Linked DNA regions of Homo sapiens: region 2 is linked to region 1. The links are contacts of gene promoters, found by promoter capture Hi-C in human tissues and cell types (Jung and others, 2019). All regions are on one chromosome and are shown on one strand. The core of a region is centred on a gene start or on the middle of the fragment in contact, and the rest is flanking DNA. Distances in the headings are between cores, read along the strand shown. Region 1 holds the start of TEFM (transcription elongation factor, mitochondrial). Region 2 holds the start of EVI2A (ecotropic viral integration site 2A).

What was found. Contacts are between HindIII fragments. The study calls those that stand out against the background at their distance.
Region 2: the fragment with the promoter of EVI2A here is called in contact with the fragment with the promoter of TEFM in region 1 in 1 of the 25 tissues and cell types used here (IMR-90 fibroblasts).

What each region holds. Positions count from the first base shown.
Region 1 is chr17:30,904,089-30,910,719 of GRCh38, reverse strand. TEFM (transcription elongation factor, mitochondrial) reads left to right here and starts at 4,482. Exons shown (of 4, transcript NM_024683.4): 1 at 4,482-4,552; 2 at 6,191-6,631. The coding sequence starts at 4,522. RefSeq lists enhancers at 2,944-3,744, 3,723-3,992. The HindIII fragment of the contact is 8,355 bases long and covers 1-6,631 here.
Region 2 is chr17:31,316,308-31,323,209 of GRCh38, reverse strand. It overlaps EVI2A (ecotropic viral integration site 2A), which reads left to right and starts at 1,588. Exons shown (of 2, transcript NM_014210.4): 1 at 1,588-1,715; 2 at 4,187-6,800. The coding sequence starts at 4,197. The coding sequence ends at 4,907. The region is part of intron 36 of NF1 (neurofibromin 1); the gene reads right to left. RefSeq lists enhancers at 4,440-4,499, 4,710-4,759. The HindIII fragment of the contact is 10,482 bases long and covers 1-3,845 here.

The DNA.
Region 1 (6,631 bases), core at 3,233-5,732:
TACACAATAATCTGCCATTGAGGTTTTGGCTAATACAAATAGTGCTGCTATGAGCATTCTTGTAATCAGGTTTAACCATGTGAAATTGCCATTTTTGCAAATAGACAACTGGCAAATACTGGCAATTTTATACATATAGCTCCATTAGTTGCATGTCCTTTAGTGCACATTTGTTTGCATTCTGTTGGATATACACCCGGGGTTGGACTGCAGGACCATAGGATATACAAATCTTCAGCTTTAGTAGATATTGCCAGCTTTTCAAAGTGATTCAACCAACCCACACTTCCATCAGCAATGTATGAGATTTCCAGTAGGTATTCTCATGGGTGTGTAGTGGTATTGCAATGTGGTGTTTTTTGTTTTTTGGTTTTCTTTGAGACGGAGTCTCTCTCTTATCGCCCAGGCTGGAATGCAGTGGTGCAATCTCGGCTCACTGCAACCTCTGCCTCCAGGTTCAGGCCATTCTCCTGCCTCAGCCTCCCAAGTAGCTGTGATTACAGGCGCCCACCACCACGCCCGGCTAATTTTTGTATTTTCAGTAGAGATGGGGTTTCACCATGTTGGCCAAGCTGGTCTCGAACTTCTGACCTCAGGTGATCTGCCTGCCTTGGCCTCCCAAAGTGCTGGGATTACAGGCGTGAGCCACAGTGCCCAGCCTCCTGTTTCCTTTTAAATGTGAACATTGTTTCTCAATCTTCTTGGGAATCGGAATCCTCTAACCACATCTAATGGTGGTGCTCCCAAGGAGTTCTCTCCTTATCTCACTGTGCTTTTCTCACGCCTACCCCCTCTCCCTGGCTCCTCGTATCTGTTCTCATGAGTAAAGTACCATCTCTACAGGCTGACGGCCTCCAAACATACACCCCAGCTCAGTGCTCCTCCTTAGCTTCAGATGTGCATCTCTATCTATTGGACATCACCCTCTAATGTCCTGCAGGCTTCAAAACAGATTTTAGTTTGTTTTTGTTTTTTTCAATAAACCTTTTGCACTCCTAACTTAAAAAAAAAAGAAGGAAATAGAAAATATCAGGTTGTATCACATGCAAAAATACAATGGTTGTTTTTGTTTTTCATTTAGTCAGGGTCTCACTCTGCCACCCAGGCTTGAGTACAGTGGTGCAATCTCTGCTCACTACGACCTCCACCTCCCAGGCTCAAGGGATTCTCCCACCTCAGCCTCCCAAGTAGCTGGAACTACAGGCGCATACCACTATGCCCAGCTAATTTTTTTTGGTATTTTTGGTAAAGATGGGGTCTTGCCATGTTGCCCAGGCTGGTCGTAAACTCCTGGGCTCAATGAATCTGCCTGCCTTGCTCTCCCAAAGTGCTGGTATTACAAGTGTTGAACCACCACACCTGGCCTTTTTTTTTTTTTAATGAAACTTTTGTATCACACATGTATCCTGGATCAGTCAAAAGTTTTAAAAACACAGAAACTAGATAACAGGCTAGACATAATGATGGAAGGAGTAGAAAGAGCCAGAGACACCTGCATCTGGGTGACAAAAACAGGGAAGTGAGAAGGAGCTAGTTTTTGGGGGAAGACGGTGACTTTCATTTTGGAGGCATCAATTCTGGTTTACAGTAAATCAGGCAATACTTATCTCTTTCCTTTGTATTTCTGGCTCTGGTCAAAGCATATTTCTGAATAAATGCTTTCAGGAAGGAGGGTGATTCCCCTATAGGTCATTCATAATCATTTCTCAGGAAGAGGGGGGATGCTTTACTGGGCAAAACCACATTGATTGAACTCTTATCTTATGCTGGGTTCTTTGCATCCAGTTTCTCATGCATCCTCCAAGCAGCCCTGTGAGGTAGGTACCATTAACTCCGTTTTACAAATGAGGAAGGTGAGGTTCAGAGAGGATAAGAAACTGACTATGGTGATGCAGTTACTAAGTGATAAACTGTGTCTTGCTAGCGAACCAGACCATCTCTGAAAGCAACACCAGGAATCCTTATGGCCTCTTGTATTAGTTTCTTAGGGCTGCTGTAACAAATGACCACAAACTGGTCATTTATTCTCTCCAGTTCAGGAGGCTGGAAGCCCAAAATCAAGGTGTTATCCGGGCTTGTTCCTTCAAAGGGCTCTAAGGGGACTCTGGCCCATGCCTCTCTCCTAGTTTCTAGTGACTATTGGCAACCCTTGGCCTTTCTGGGTTTGTAGAAAGCATCATTCCAATCTCCGCTTCCATCTTCACATGGCATTCACAGAGTCATCTTCTCATAAGAACAGCAGCCATGTTGGATTAGTCCCTGCCCCAGTCCAGCGTGTCCTCATTTTATTTTATTTATTTACTTATTTTTTTGAGACAGAGTCTCGCTCTGTCGCCCAGGCTGGAGTGCAGTGGTGCCATCTCAGCTCGCTGCAAGCTCTGCCTCCCGGGTTCACGCCATTCTCCTACCTCAGCCTCCTGAGTAGCTGGGACTACAGGCGCCCGCCACCACGCCCGGCTAATTTTTTGTATTTTTTAGTAGAGACGGGGTTTCACCGTGTTATCCAGGATGGTCTCGATCTCCTGACCTCGTAATCCCCCCTCCTCGGCCTCCCAAAGCGCTGGGATTACAGGCGTGAGCCACCGTGCCGGCCTTCCTGTCCTCATTTTAATTAGTTACATCTACAATGACCTTATTTGGAAATAATAAGGTACTGGGGGTTAGGACTTCAACAAATCTGTTTTGAGGGATGCAATTCAATCATAACATCTCAGTAAACTGAATAAGCCCTACAGTTGAGGAAATTATTTCCTCCTGATTTGGAGGATTTTGCAGAAAAAAGTTGATGTTATTTCTTGTTAGATTCCTAAGTTCCCCAGAAACTGCCAAGGTTTCTAGACTTCCTATGAGCAATTTTTTTTCTTTTTTTGAGACAAGGTCTGGCTCTGTCCCCCACGCTGGAGTGTGGTGACACGATCTCCACTCACTGCAACCTCTACCTCCCGGGCTCAGGTGATTCTCCCACCTCAGCCTCCTGAGTAGCTGGGATAACAGGCGTGCTCCACCACACCCGGCTAATTTTTTCGTAGAGACGGGGTTTCGCCATGTTGCCCAGGGTGGTCTGGAACTCAAGAGCTCAAGCGATCCGCCCGTCTCGGCCTCCCAAAGTGCTGGAATTACACTTTGGGAGCCACTGCTCCCGACCAGCACATTTTATTAATACTTATGATTCCCCTACATCCCCACTGCCTTCCAGACACAAACAATCAACCCATTGCTGCCTCATAAAAACGCAAACTCATCACCTTTCCCTCCCTCCTGAATTCCCCGTTTTTCACAAAACTGGCTCCCCATCTTCCAGAAATAATTCTTTTCTTTCCACTCTCCTTACATCTCCTAGGTTCAATTCCTTACGGTTGGCCAGGCGCAGTGGCCCACGCCTGTAATCCCAGCACTTTGGGAGGCCGAGTCGGGCGGATCACCTGAGGTCAGGAGTTCGAGACCAGCCTGGCCAACATGGTGACACCTGTCTCTACTAAAAATACAAAAATTAGCCGGGCGTAGTGGCGCTCGCCTGTAATCTCAGCTACTCGGGAGGCTGAGGCACGAGAATCACTTGAAATCGGGAGGCGGAGTTTGCAGTGAGTCCAGATCGCACCACTGCACTCCAACCTGGGCGACAGAGCAAGACTGTTAAAAAAAAAATTCCTTACGCTTGCCTCTCACCTGGGAAGATACACTCTCTTCGCGACTTCTCATTGCTCCCAGGCTCTTCACCTGCAATCCAGCCTCACATTCGCTATACAGTATATGGCCAATTTTCTAGGAACACTCTCCAGTCTGACTGCAAATCATAAACCTCGGGGACTTCAGGCTTCCTATCTGGTGGAGTATTCAACTGCTCCACCCATTATTCAAGGACCAACTAAATTCGGCGCTACATTCATCTCCCTTTATCCCTTCTAAGAGGAATACCGCTCCAGCGCCAACGCAATCTCCTCCTCCCTCGCCTTTACCTAATCCCTTGCCTGCCCTGTTTCCCCGCTGAGCTCCTCAAACACTTCGCATCTCTCCCCGTTATTCCAGTCTACCTGGTGAAAAGGTTATTTGAGGACCTTGTCTACGCTGCCCCTACCTGATCCCGCTCCCGGCGCCACAGGCTGGGCCCCAACAGGAGCTCCTCAATCTAAGTGTCTAGGAGAAACCCAGGGAGTCTCCACGAAGGAGGCACTTTACCCACTACAGACTAAAACTGGCCTCGGAATCGCCTTCCTGGAGATTCGGCCCAGCGGCTCTCAGGAGTCGGTAGGGGCAAGAACGTTTCCCCGGTGCAGTGGAAGAAGACTGCGGGCCAGCCAGGGACTCGGGATCCGGGGACAGGGCCTCGGCAGGCGCCCGCCTGGAAGCCCGCAGCCCAGACGCGGACGACCCACTGCTCAGCGGGACACACCTCGGGCCTTGCCCCGGAACGCCGCTTGGACAACAACCTTTCCGCCGAGTGCAGGCCGAGCGCTTTTGGGCGCAGCACGCAGGAACCGGAAGTCAATGGAGGAAGACTGGACCTACTGATTCAACTTGGAGATGAGCGGGTCTGTCCTCTTCACGGCGGGAGGTAGGGTGCTTGGAACACTGGGGTGATTTCCCGTCTGTCATTAGCCTCTGACCCTAGAGGCTAATGGAATACGGCGGGAGGTAGGGTGCTTGGAACACTGGGGTGATTTCCCGTCTGTCATTAGCCTCTGACCCTAGAGGCTAATGGAATACGGCTGGAGGTATTCTGGAGGAACCTGGAGTGTTTCCTTCCTCATGTCCCTCATGTCCTAGAGTGTTTCCTTCCTCATGTCCCTTGTTCAGGCCCCTCTCTTGGGGCCCCAGCCTAGCTGACGGGGCAGTTTTCGGAACATTTGTGCTTCCCCGGCCTCAGGGTCCACGGGTGGCTCCTCAGAGTGGGCGGATGGTTCACATTCTCACAGCCGCTTGCTTACCTCTGGCCACATTACTTTCCTGTGGCTGCGATGTTAGAGTGACTTCCCACTGGTTTTACAAAGTTATGCATTGTATGGTGTTTCTCATACTTGCAAAAACGTCATGTAGAAGTCTTGAAAAGTGTACGGAAGAAAGTAAAACTGCCCTTAAATCTATCACTTAGCTGAAACATTTCTTATAAACGTACAAAATTTAATTTTATTTAGTTCCACCAGATGAGATACTAAAATGTGAAAATGGAAGTGAAGACAAAACCCTTTTTTTTTTTTTTTTGAGACGGAGTTTCGCTCTTGTTGCCGAGACTGGAGTGCAATGGTGCGATCTCGGCTCACCGCAACCTCCGCCTTCCGGGCTCAAGCGATTCTCCTGCCTCAGCCTCCCGAGTAGCTGGGATTACAGGCATGTGCCACCACGCCCGGCTAATTTTGTATTATTAGTAGAGACAGGGTTTCTCCATGTTGGTCAGGCTGGTCTCGAACTCCCGACCTCAGGTGATCCGCCCACCTCGGCCTCCCAAAGTGCTGGGATTATAAGCGTGAGTCACCGCGCCCGGCCTAAGACAAACCTTAACAGGAAATATTAGTTACAAAAAGATTCCTCTAAATTAAAAATATCAGAAACTTTAAGCAGTTGGAATAATTATTTCAACTACTTGCTTCCTGATGGGTATAAAATACAATTTTCTAGGTAGTAAAACTTCGGACTGATCCATAAATATCGGGAGACATCTCTCGTGACTTGAAAACAACAAAAGCTCTATTTAAAACTCTATATAATATAGTTTAAAAACTAATCCTCTTTTAAAGATGATTCTCGGGCCGGGCACAGTGGCTCACGCCTGTAATCCCAGCACTTTGGGAGGCTGAGGTGGGCGGATCACGAGGTCAGGAGATGGAGACCATCCTGGCTAACACTGTGAAACCCCGTCTCTACTAAATATACAAAAAATTAGCCGGGCGTGGTGGCAGGCGCCTGTAGTCCCAGCCACCTGGGAGGCTGAGGCAGGAGAATGGCGTGAACCTGGGAGGCGGAGCTTGCAGTGAGCCGAGATCGGCCACTGCACTCCAGCCTGGGCAACAGAGCAAGACTCCGTCTCAAAAAAAAAAAAAAAAGATGATTCTCCAAGACAATTTAATATTGTCCTCTATTAGTTCTTAAATTCCAGGAAAGTATTTGTGACTTTGCAAAGGATCTAGTCAAGCTTGCAACTAACCCCAAAGGAAGTAGGACATCCAACTTATATTTTGCTAAATTTTCCTTTTAGAGAGGTGGAGATGCTTTCTGACCCCGTCGAGGTCATCCCTGTACTGGGCCTTACATAATTTCTGCTGTCGGAAAAAATCCACTACACCTAAGAAAATTACTCCCAATGTTACTTTTTGTGATGAAAATGCAAAGGAGCCCGAAAATGCACTTGACAAGCTCTTCTCTTCAGAACAGCAGGCTTCCATCTTGCATGTGTTGAATACAGCATCTACTAAAGAACTTGAAGCTTTCCGATTGCTTCGTGGAAGAAGGTCCATCAATATCGTAGAGCACAGAGAAAACTTTGGGCCATTTCAGAATTTAGAGAGTTTAATGAATGTGCCCTTGTTTAAGTATAAAAGTACAGTTCAAGTTTGTAACTCCATACTTTGTCCAAAGACTGGACGGGAAAAAAGAAAGTCACCGGAAAACCGGTTCCTGAGAAAGCTCCTCAAACCAG
Region 2 (6,902 bases), core at 339-2,838, 420 kb before region 1:
CCCAGGCTGGTCTCGAATTTCTGTGGCTCAAGTAATCCTCCCGCCTCAGCCTCCCAAAGTGCTGAGATTACAGGTGTGAGCCACCATGTCCTGCTTTTATAATTTTTAAACAATCTTCTCATCTGATGTTTATGTACACAAACATTTCTGAATCATTGTTGTATGTATTAGGGAACTGTTCAACCGGTTTTATTTTCCCTTAAAGAAAGGGTGGTATGACCAAAGACAGTGATGTATACAAGATATAAGAAGGATTCAGGGCTACCGAAAAGGCACTGTAGAGTCTAGGTATGACCTGATAAGGATCTAAAATAGTACTGTTGACAGTAAAAACAGGGAAAAAGAAACTGATCCAACAATATGAAGGAAGGACCAACATGATTCAAAGTCTGATCAGGACTGAGAGGACTTAAATTAAAATGATGTGTTGTATACTAAGCCTCTGATATTAGAATGTTGCTATCATGAACAGAAACAAGAAGACTGTCACAGGCAGCCTCCTTTAAAGAAAAAATAAAGTTCTTTTTATTTCATTAATTTAATTAATTTTTAAGAGATGGAGTCTTGCTATGTTACCCAGGCTGGATTTGAACTCCTGGGCTCCACCAGTGATCCTCCTACCTCAACCTACCTAGTAGCTGGGATTACAGATATGTGCTGCCATATCCAGTTCTTTTTTTTTTTTTTTTTTTTTTTTTTTTTTTTTTTGAGACAGAGTCTTACTCTGTCTTCCTGGCTGGAGTGCAGTGGCATGATCTTAGCTCATGCAGCCAAGATCTCATGATCTCTGCAGCCTCCACGTCCCGGGTTCAAGCTATTCTCCTGTCTCAGCCTCCCAAGTAGGTGGGACTACAGGTGCATGCTACCCTGCCTGGTTAATTTTTATATTTTTAGTAGAGACAGGTTTTCTCTATGTTGGCCAGGCTGGTCTTGAACTCCTGGCCTCAAGTGATCTGCCTGCGTCAACCCTCCCAACGTGCTGGGATTACAGGTGTGAGCCACCGTGTTCAGCCCATACCTAGTTCTTAAAGTCTGTTTCAGTCATGTTAAACTTGAGGTGATGACAGGATGTTTGACAGTTGTGTGTGTGTGTGTGTGTGTGTGTGTGTGTGTGTATACACACACTACACCACACGAAAGCATTTTCTGTCCCATATAATCTAAGTTTACTAGATATTTTCTCAAATAATTGCTGCAGTTCCACAATTGTTACATTATCTGATCAGTATCCCATGGACTCCAAACTCACATTTTCAAATCAGTCTGTAGATTTCAAATAAGTCTTTTAGAGAAGATTTGAAATGGAAGATACCATTTCAAAACCTCTTTTGAATGACACTAAAGCATGTAGCAGGCCTATAGAATGAGCATACTGTCAAAAGGCATTAAGTGGAAAACCCTCCCTGCTCTGGAGGCGGGGATTGGTTCTACAAAGCCTCCTGTCATGCCAGTGGCCAACTAGAGAAGTTGGAGCTTTTTCGTTGTTTTTTTTTTTTTCCCTCCTGTGACATGTGCTTTAGTTGCAGTGGAAAGGAAATGTGTCATCTGTGGTTTGGTTTTAAAAGTGGAAAACTAGCTGCACATATCCTTTTTTACTGCAGATTTACTTTAAGGCTCATATTCTCCAAGTCTATTCTGCTTTAAAAAGAAGACAAGAAAAGAAGTGGTTTATCAAAATCACGTTATAATCAGATTTTGACCAAGCATTTTGTAAGGTAGGTCATATATATACGGCTTTTCTTATGCCTTTTCACTTCTAACGTCTGACAGATTAGTGTTCGAGGAAATGCTATCAAAGTGTGTAAGAATCTCACTAACAAACTAGAATTGTGACTGAAAATGTATACTTTTTTTTTCTGTCCTGTTACATAAATTTTAAGTTAGAAATGAAAAAATTTGCCATCGCCATGGAGTTTTAAATTAGGATTACGAAGGATCTAAGTTTGGTTTCCTCAAGTAAACTGGAAATGTTTTGTTATTTTTCAAAAGTTAAAAAATAAATTTCTCATTACTAATGCTTGGACATTACAAATTCTACTGAAAATAAATTCTACTGAAAATGATCAGATATAAGAAAACTTCTGATAACACAACCTGGCCTCCAAGGCATAAACTGGAGTAAAAACAGTCCTCAATTCTCAGGCATTTGTAAGGGCAAGAGAAAGTCTCATTTTGTCATACAGTTTGTTTATTTGGGCACTGCAGTACATCTGGCTGAAGACAATCAACAGCAGGCCTATTATCTGTTCCGTGGTAAGCACTGTTAAAATGTGTACCAATACTATGATGTATACTACACTGTTAATGAACTAATGTGAAAAGAATAATCTACTTTAAATCATTCTAGCATCTAATACAGAAGTCCAGTCTAGTATAAAAAGATGGAAATTACTTGCTAATCCAATTTCAAGTATTTCTTTTTGTGGAAGAATCATGAAATATCCAAAGATTTATGTCACTAAACTTAAAAATTAAAGCTGAACACTATTATACAAAAGCCAGTGACTTGGGCCTTTAATTGTCTACTAAAGGTCATAATCTAAAAAGTAATCTTAATCCTGGAATATTTAATAGTTTTTCCTCCCTACTATTAATATGAAATATAGTCTCCAGTTAGCATTGTTTATTACATGCTACTTTTGTTTGCATAACTCAACGTATCACATTTCTTATTTTCAATTTCTGTATTTTAATAGTATACAAATGTCAGCCAATGACATATAACAACCATTTCTTATAAAACCTTGATGTTCAAAAGCCTGACTAGCAGTGGCATCCATGTTGCTTAGGAGTTGGTTTGGAAACAAAGACTTTCAGGCCCTACCTATACTAGCTAGGTAAGAATCTGCCTTTTTTTTTTTTTTTTAAATAAAAGGACTCCTAAGTACATTTGAGAAGAATTTCTATAGCATACGTAGGGTTCTTAACCAGGCAATTTCATTTAGTAAATCTCAGGAGAACAATATAGTTTTGCTTTTAGTTCATTCAAATAAATGCTAACAATAAAATACTCCTTTCAAAAGTAGCTCAAGACAAACTGGTATATTATTATAAGATACCTTAATAATGATTATAAATCTTTCCTGCTGGGTTAGCAGTACATGGAACTGTTAAATTCTAAGATATGCCATTTCTATTTAAATCAATCATTTGGTAGATTTAAAAAATGTATAATATAACTTGTCTCCTTTTTGTACTAGTTTCCAGCAAGCTCAGGGCCAAAGCGGAAATTCAACATTTTCAATTATCTGTTGAGATGCTTATAACCTGCCACTTCATCCCAAATCATCAAGATCCTGATGCTCTATTTCTATTTTATTACACATTTTTTTTTACAATTATGTCAAAATCAGAAAAAATGCTAGGTATAAATGATGCTTTAAAAGAAAACCCAGCAACTTTTGTTGAACTTTTAAGTCTACTCAGAGGAAATTTGCTGTTTTTTTTTTTTTTTCTTCAGATTTTTAGGTTGAGAAAACTGGTATGCCTTTGCCTTCAGAAAGACACAGTCAGTCCAGGGAAATATAAATGAAAAGAGACAACCACCACAGTAAAATTGCGTTCACAAATACACTTACAAATGTATTTCTAAGTACCAGCTTTATTCTAAGCTTCAAGATGAACACCCAAGAAAAAAAAAGAACACCTTGAATTTCTATTTGAAGTTCAGTTTCTTTTGGTTGCTACCAAACTTCCCCTCTTTCCACCAAAAAAATTTGCATTTATTTCATACATGAAGCAAGAAGCTCAAGGCCACATTTCTTCTGTAAAGATTGGTGACAGGTTAGAGGGTGGGTAGTTTCTGTAAGAATGATCCTTAATTTTTTTTTTTTTTTAAAGAAGGAATCAGAAAAGTAAAAGCAGAACTAACTGACTCAAAGCAGAAGTCTAGCACGCTTCAAAGGAAGAAAACTATATAAAGCCATGATAGTCCACTTAAAATGATTAATATTTATTTGTAATGCTAACTTCTAGCATCTAAAAGTGTTAATAGAAATTAAAATGCTTCTTCATACATAGCTGAATAGAAAAGAAATTTAGTTGAGAAGGAATTCAGGGTAGCGAATATTAGGCATAAGCTTGTAGTTTACTTGTAACATCTCAACACTATCTTTTAACTACAATTACCAAAACTAGGATCCATTATTCTTTCACAAACTAACAAATTATATTGCTATCCCAACAGATTGCCAAGCATGCCCACGGACATGGAACACACAGGACATTACCTACATCTTGCCTTTCTGATGACAACAGTTTTTTCTTTGTCTCCTGGAACAAAAGCAAACTATACCCGTCTGTGGGCTAACAGTACTTCTTCCTGGGATTCAGTTATTCAAAACAAGACAGGCAGAAACCAAAATGAAAACATTAACACAAACCCTATAACTCCTGAAGTAGATTATAAAGGTAATTCTACAAACATGCCTGAAACATCTCACATCGTAGCTTTAACTTCTAAATCTGAACAGGAGCTTTATATACCTTCTGTCGTCAGCAACAGTCCTTCAACAGTACAGAGCATTGAAAACACAAGCAAAAGTCATGGTGAAATTTTCAAAAAGGATGTCTGTGCGGAAAACAACAACAACATGGCTATGCTAATTTGCTTAATTATAATTGCAGTGCTTTTTCTTATCTGTACCTTTCTATTTCTATCAACTGTGGTTTTGGCAAACAAAGTCTCTTCTCTCAGACGATCAAAACAAGTAGGCAAGCGTCAGCCTAGAAGCAATGGCGATTTTCTGGCAAGCGGTCTATGGCCCGCTGAATCAGACACTTGGAAAAGAACAAAACAGCTCACAGGACCCAACCTAGTGATGCAATCTACTGGAGTGCTCACAGCTACAAGGGAAAGAAAAGATGAAGAAGGAACTGAAAAACTTACTAACAAACAGATAGGTTAGTGAAGAAAAATGCAAAGTAGCAATGAGAAGGCTTATGGAGTAAAAATGAAGTCAGTTGGTATTTAATCCCAAAGTGTTGTTCTGATTATCTAAAATTTGACATGGTAGACCTTGCAATTTAGAATCAAGCAGGTGAGACAGGGAGAAGTATGCCTGCTTAATTATTTAAACTGTGTACTTTTGTTTTGACACTGAATATTTTAAAAAGCAAATAATAAAATAACTAAGCATTTGAGGAAAATTTTAAGGATAAATTGAGGAAACTGATTAATAGAGATAGCAAGGGATAATTAAATAAATATTCCCTATGTAGCAACAGTGGTTAGATGATCTTTGTCTGAATGTAATTAAACTTTGAATAGTTTTAGTGTGTCCTTAAAGCCAAGTATATGCTTTAACATCAAATGGAAGTCAAATTCCTAATGCATAGATAGAGAGAGCTAAACTGTGTAATTTAATGGTATCTTCCTTGCTGGATGTGGCAGAATCCACACCAGCTTATCAACCAACACAGCTAATTTTAGAATAGATCCTTTATCTTTCCATATGGCACACGTAAGAAAGTGTTTTTCTACTATTAATATTAAATTAAAACCTTTACTTTTGTATAATAAATTAAAACTCAGAATAAACCTGTGACCACGTATATTTGCATTCACTTTATTACTTTAGAGAACACATTGTAAAGATCAATAAGAAATAGAGCACAACTAAAATAAATAAGATTTATAGCCACACCAATAGGCTAAGTGTAAACGCAAAGTATGTTTCACTGTTTATGATTAATAATATTCATCTTTTCTATAAATACTACTTACTGGAACATTAACAACAAGTACCAAAGGTTGATTAATTTTTGGACTTCAAGGATGCCAAGTAGCCTAATGATTTATTAGGGGTGTGTGTGTGTGTGTGTGTGTGTGTGTGTGTGTGTTCAAATCTGGAAAACTGCATACTTCAGGTTATAATTTAACCTTTAAAGAAACTGGCTTCAAGTAAAATAATGACTTACATTTAAGTTGAGAACCCCCCCATCTTCAATTAAATATATTACAAAAATTGGTTTGAGAGACTTTCCAAATATCTACTGAAATTAACACAGGGCTAAGATCAGGCCACATTTCAAAAATCTCATCCCTTACTGGGCATTTATTTCGGGCAATATAGTAACCATTTTAAAAATATTTTTTATATGTTTTTTCCCAAGTATGACTACAATCTTACTCTCCCTTCTAAGCTAGTGATTCTTACCCTGGCTGCATGTCAGAATCACCTGAAGAGTTTTTAAAAAACACCAATGCCTAATTCCCATGTCTTCCTTCTGATGCAACTGGAATGGGGTGAACTCTAAGCATTGGTAATTTTTACGTAACTCTCAAGGTGATAACTGCTCTTGGTCATCAAATTCAAACGTCTAGCTATTATTAAAATGAGAGGAAAAAAATAAAGCATCATTTTTATTATCAATTTATTAGCAATTTGTAAAAAACAAATCTATTCTCTAAACGAGAAATCATAACAATATTATTCCAGATAAAGTTAAGTGTTAACAAAGTAAAAAGGAAAGCATGAGAATATTCATGCCAGTCATGGTGACTGAAATCAGGTTATCTTTTGAGGGGAAAAATAACCCAGATTAGAAATGAAACTGGGCAGACTTCCCATTCTGTGCAAAAATTGAAAATTTGAGATTGTGCACCAGTACATCCAGGAGTAACACAAAGCACTCCTTGAATCAAGGGTCATAAATAAACACGTGTCAGAGAAAATTAAAAGAAATTAATATCATCATAAAAATAGGAAATTACTTTCATATTCAACATACTGGTCAAACATTTTCTCACCAGAGAGCTTCTACCACAAGGATATTTAAAAGAATATTTAAAATTCACCACTCACTATCTTGGCTATTAAACATATACTCTCAGAATGGTACTATCCAATGATAGTTACTGAACAAACAGAAGTGTTTCCTTTCCAAATGACAGGTATTTT